2 separate regions of the Homo sapiens genome follow, and region 1 is linked to region 2. Evidence: promoter capture Hi-C in 16 types of primary human blood cells and fetal thymus (Javierre and others, 2016). All regions are on one chromosome and are shown on one strand. Each heading gives the region's core, a stretch centred on a gene start or on the middle of the fragment in contact. The rest is flanking DNA. Distances are from core to core; before and after follow the strand shown.

Region 1 (2,974 bases), core at 454-2,953, 130 kb after region 2:
CATGAATCTGGGCATCAACCACTCCTGGAATGGAGATGCTGGCAAACTCGACTCTCTGGGGATGCGCACAGCTGACTCAGGGAGGGTGCGGTGGCCAGGAAGAAGGATCGATCCTATTCTCAGAGATCTTCGCCAGGGCTGGTTAAGATCTGAGAGCCATCAGCCACATCAAATGCATCCTGATCTCTATGACATCAGTGCGGTCCCTCTGCCTGGTAAATCTCCTCTTGCTACTCACAATGCCCATAATTCCACCATTATGGATACAACCAAGGCTCTTGTTCAGTATACAAAGGTATGGTCATACTAATCATTAAAATATTTAAATGCATTCCTACTAGTTGGTAATAACCCATGCCCTGAGTGTCCTCCAAGTACCAGGTATAACAGACCCTCCAGGCCTTCCTCTGGAAGCCTCCAGGGCCCCTCCCCTTAACAGCCATTAAAGGGGTAGTACCCTTACCACGGCAGGGCCACCCAGGGCTATGTGGATCATCAGTAAGTGATGGTCACAACCATTATTACTACTTTTCATATCACTCCTGGAAACAACCCTTTGGATCACAACTTTGTCTCCTGTTTAAAGGCAAATGGTAGAAATTTAGAGGTGAAGAGGCCCTGTGCAATCTCTTCATCTTTCAGATGAGGAAACTAACGCCCAGGGAGAAGCAGAGACTTGCCCAAGGTCACACTGCCAGGCAGTGTAAAACAAGGTATTAGAATGCAGGTCCCTGACTCCTGACACTTCCTTTAGGTGTCAGTTTATCTGGACCCCACACACTGAACTTGAGCAGGTAATGGAAGGAAGTGATGGGGAGGGACCTGTCTCAAGAAAGAAGTGAGAACCAATCATTTGGCTCTTTACCTGGTCACCATAGTCATGGCAACAGTCTCCTTGGTCACTATCTCCTTAGAGATAGTTGCCATGGCAACCACTACCCCGGGGCACCAACTTTCTGACACCCAAGAGCCTTAAGATAAACCAGAAGCAAGTCTGTTCCATAGCACTAACCCATATCAGAGCTCCGAGTAGGAAAGAGACTTGCCCAACATCACACAGCAAGCTGGCAGTGAAGTCAAGCTTCCTGAGTCCCCCACCCGAGGCTCTCACAGCAGCCCCACCCTCTCTACAGCTGACACCGCCCCTCCCCCACCTATCCCCATTTTTCTGCCTGCTTTGGTGCTTCCCACATTCCTCCAGCCCTCAGTCAGGATCTCCTTCCCACGGCATCTCACCCTTGGCTGCCTGTCAGCCAGCCCATCCTCCTGGGAACAGGCTGACATGAGTTTTGTGTAGGACTCATCGCAGGGGTTTGCAACATTGGCTGAGGCTCCCTGAAGACCAAAGAGCCTTCAACATCCTTTGCCCTCCAAAGGAAATAATCTCCAATGGTGGAATTTCAGGCTCTATGCTCAGAACTGAGTAGCTCTTTTTGGGGGGTCGGGCCCATCCGCTGTGTAAGGCAGAAGTTGCTGCCCCACTCTGAGTCTAGAATCACTCCGAGTCTGATCCCCTGTTTTGTTTTTATCAAGTCCCTTTTCCTCTCTGGGACTCAGTATCCCCACCAAAGACAAGGGGATGAGGATACCGTTCTACAGTCACCACCACCACCACCATCAGAAGACTGCCAGAGACCAGACGCAATCTAGTGTTTCAGTATAACCAAACAAGGAATGGCCATGGTTTAAAGAACTGGCCTACCTTCCCGCTATCTTCTTTTAGAAAAATGGAATCTCAGGATTGGAAGGATGTCCCAGGCACAGGGAAGATCTTGAGCAAAAGCAGGGAGGCTGAAAAGAATCTAGGGAACCTGTGACTACCTAGTGTGTTGACGTGTAAGGATAAAGAGAAAGTAGGGCCTATAATCCCAGCACTTTGGGAGGCCAAGGAAGGAGGATCAATTGAGCTCAAGAGTTCGAGACCAGCCTGGGCAATACAGTAAGACCCCACATCTAAAAGAATATAAATAAATAAATAAATAAACACAGAGAAAGTAGCCTAGCAGGACAAGCCAGAGGAGATTAAAAGGGATCAGTCACCAGTCCCAGGGCTAAGGACGTTGTCTCTGACGCCTCCTTTCTGTCCTTCTGTTCCTGCCCTCAAAAGCAATGAGCACCAAGCATTTGCAAACTCCAAGTCTCAGGGCTTCAGGGACTCACCAAAGATGCTGAGGCACTCCCCTGCCTGGGTCTAACCTGTGCAATTCTGATACTGTGGGATGGAGGGGATGGAGCTGCATAGGTTGAAGGGCAAAAGAGAGCAAGGAGCACTGCAGGAAATCATCCACTCATCCATTCATTTGATGAATATTTATTAAATGCAACCCAAGCTTGTGACCTTGGGCAAGTTATTTAGCCTGTCTGTACCTCGGAGTCCTTGTGTGCATAATGAGGACAGTGGAGATGCCTGCCCCGTACGATGGTGTGAGGATCAAGTGAGTTTGTAAATGTTTAGTGCAGTGCATGGGAAGCAAATCAGTACCCCATGCATGTGTGTTATAATTATAATGATTACTGAACATTTACTATGTGCTGGGCACTCTCTAGACAGTAGAAGTACTGGGTGAAGTTCAGTGTGAACACAACATGCATAATTTCTGCCCTCAAGGAGTTCACAGTCTAATAGGAGAGACAAACCAAAAAAGACAACTTTATTAAAATAATACAAAGAGGCCAGGCGCGGTGGCTCACACCTGTAATCCCAGCACTTTGGGAGGCCGAGGTGAGCGGATCACCTGAAGTCAGGAGTTCGAGACCAGCCTGGCCAACATGGTGAAACCCCTTCTCTACTAAAAATATAAAAATCAGCTGAGCATGGTGGCACACACCTGTAATCCCAGCAACTCAGGGCGCTGAGGCAGGAGAATCACTTGAACCTGGGAAGCTGAGGTGGCAGTAAGCCAAGATCATACCACTACACTCCAGCCTGAGCAACAGAGCAAGACTCCATCTCAAAACAATAATAATAATAAAA
Region 2 (3,018 bases), core at 387-2,886:
TTCTTTATTCTATATAGAAATCCATCCTATTTAATCACTTAGACCCTGCTTGAAAAATGAGTTATAGAGTACCCCCTCCCTCTCTGGGAAACAATTCCATAGTAAGAGAGTTCTGCCTGTTAGAACATACTAATCTAAAATTAATTTGGAGGCCAGGTGCAGTGGCCCATGCCTGTAATTCCAGCACTTTGGGAGGCCAAGGAGGGAGGACCACTTGAACCCAGGAGTTTGAGACTAGCCTGGGCAACATAGTAAGACCTGTCTCTCCCAAAAAAATTTTTTTAAATATTCGGGCATGGTGGTGAATACCTGGGCAGTCCCAGCTACTCAGGAGGCTGAGGTGGGAGGATTGCTTGAGCTCAGGAGCTTGAGGCTGCAATGAGCTGTGATCGCACCACTGCACCCTAGCCTGGGCTACAGAGCGAGATCCTGTCTCAAAAAAATAAAAACATAAAACAAAATTAATTTGAAAATAGCCCACCACCATGCTACGCTTTCCACATGGTTCCATCCAGAAGAGAAGTCTCCTCAATCACATGGCAACCCTGCTAATTCCCATCAATTATTCTCACAGTGAAAGTTATCAATTCCAGAAGAGAAAAATCAGCAACCTCCTCTGTAAAAGCTTTACAGAGACTTTTAGAGCCGAGTAAACAAGAGGGAGCAAAAGTTGAAACACGATGAAAATGCAACTAAAGCAATGCAGGACCTAGGCTGACTCTGGGGGTGACATCGAGGTTCCACATCCCAAAGGCAAGTCTAAATGTTGGGGTCTTCATGGACAGCTCCCAGACCTCTGATGACCCTCATGGTGCCGTTGTCAAAGGTAACATCCCAAATTATTGTAGATCTGTCTTCAGCAGGGATTTTTTTTTTTTTTTTTGAGACAGAGTCTCACTCTGTTGCCCAGGCTGGAGTGCAGTGGTGCGATCTCAGCTCACTGCAACTTCCACCTCCTGGGTTTAAGCGATTCTCCTGACTCAGCCTCCTGAGTAGCTTGGATTACAGGCACCCACCACCACACCCAGCTAGGGAATTTTTTTTTTAATGACATTGGGTAGCATCCCCCTTTGAGTCTTATAAATGATCTCCCTCAAACTTCTGCAGCAAGTGACTTCTTGGGCAAGTCATTTTCCCTGTTGGGCACATATGTAAGAGAGGGATTTGGCTTATAGATTGACATGTGTTCATTATCGTTTATTTCCACAAACCTTCACTGAGAGCATGCTTCGTGCCTTGGGGGCTCAAAAATGAAAGACACGTTCCCTACTCTCAGGAATTTCACAGGCTGGTGCGGGGAGACACACAGATAAGTAGACCATTCAAAAGTAGGTTTATGCTAGAGTGAGAGGGGCTGTGAAGAAGGGCTGAGCCCTAATGAGAGATCGGGGAAAGCTAGGGAAGATGTCCCAGTGTGAATCTTCCCTCTCCATTGCTCCAAACACCTCCTCAAAACCTGTGACTTGTAACCCTCTGCATGCCCTCCCAGTGCCTGGATCAAATGCTCAGCTTATGTGCCACACACTAGACTGATGTTATGCATGGATAAGCTCTTAGATATCCGGCTGGTTCTGTGCCCATCCCTCTGCCCCCACTGCAGAGAGGCCAATAAAACTCTTGTTCAGACTCACACTGCACACAGTATTCTGAACTCCTGGATCTACCACCTCCTGCTTCCCAAGGACCATGAAACTCCTGCTGCTGGCTCTTCCTATGCTTGTGCTCCTACCCCAAGTGATCCCAGGTAATCAGAGGTCAGGGAAGATACAAAAATAGAGGTATAGTGGGTTCTGGCTCATGAAAATTCCAATGTGTCACGGTACTCCCCAACATGGGCAGCTCCACAGTTCCCACACTGGGACTATGCTCCTGGCTGGGGTAAAACCTGGGAGTAGAGCAAGTTATCCTCAATAGACAGGGGCAGTCCCACCATCCAGAGTTGTCCTTGGTTCTATATTCCAAGTTGCCGCCTAAGAAACTAGGGGAAAGCTCGGCTCACATCTGTTCTCTTTCCAGATTGTGCCAGCTTTTGAAAATGATTCCTGCAGCCCACTTTGCTATGTTTTCTTGGCCCTAAAAGTCCTGCTATAGCTATAATGAGGTTCTTTTTGTTTTCTAATATTCTAGAATTTGGTGAACAAGTCAGAAAACACTGGTAGAGCTGTTACACGGAAGACAGAACTGGCTTTTCTTCTTCCTTCTACAGTGAAAATCTAAGCTTTTCATAATCACTGCTTTCTTAAGTATATCTAAAGGCATGACCAGAACTTTGAAATCACTGGTGAAGAGAGCCTGTTTCTCCTTTATGTTTTTCAAGGTGCATTTCAATGTATGATCGAACTTACATAAAAATGAATCTAAATATTTCTGTTTTATAACGAAGTAAGCACACTCCCTGCATGGCTATGCAGCACTCTTGTGTTTTTTTTTTTTTTTTTTTTTGAAGATGGAATCTCAATCTGTCACCCAGGCTGGAGTGCAGTGGCGCAATCTCAGCTCACTGCAACCTCTGCCTCCTGGGTTCAAGCAATTCTCCTGCCTCAGCCTCCCAAGCAGCTGGGATTACAGGCATGCACCATCATGTCCGACTAATTTTTGTATTTTTAGTAGAGATGGGGTTTCACCATGTTGGCAAGGCTGGTCTCAAACTCTTGACCTCGGGTGATCCATCCGCCTCGGTCTCCCAAAGTGCTGGGATTACAGGCATGAGCCACCGCACCCGGCCCTATGCAGCACTCTTCTTTCACTTATTATTTTGTGGCCATCTTTCCATGTCACCATCTAAAGATCTGCCTTATTGTTTGTAAAGTTGTATAGTTCTGCTGTAGGATAAGCCATATAAAGTCATATATAGCCATTTGAGACATTTCTTAATTTTCGAACAAGACATCAATGAATATGCTTGTACAAACATTAATATATTTACATATATGGATATGGGCTTAAATAGGATAGATTCCTAGAGGGCAAATAACCAAGTTAAATGTAAGTCTGGTGGGGGTGGGCAAGAAAATTAAA

What was found. The method cuts DNA at HindIII sites, captures the fragments that hold promoters and counts their contacts. A CHiCAGO score of 5 or more calls a contact.
Region 1: a contact is called between a fragment that was not itself captured here and the fragment with the promoter of DEFB118 in region 2, in 1 of 17 cell types (M1 macrophages). The highest score is 5.1, in M1 macrophages.

What each region holds. Positions count from the first base shown.
Region 1 is chr20:31,497,148-31,500,121 of GRCh38, forward strand. No RefSeq gene overlaps it. Among named protein-coding and RNA genes, the nearest start is that of LINC00028, 13 kb to the left of the region's middle. The HindIII fragment of the contact is 1,249 bases long and covers 1,080-2,328 here.
Region 2 is chr20:31,366,965-31,369,982 of GRCh38, forward strand. DEFB118 (defensin beta 118) reads left to right here and starts at 1,637. Exons shown (of 2, transcript NM_054112.3): 1 at 1,637-1,744. The coding sequence starts at 1,687. The HindIII fragment of the contact is 1,593 bases long and covers 624-2,216 here.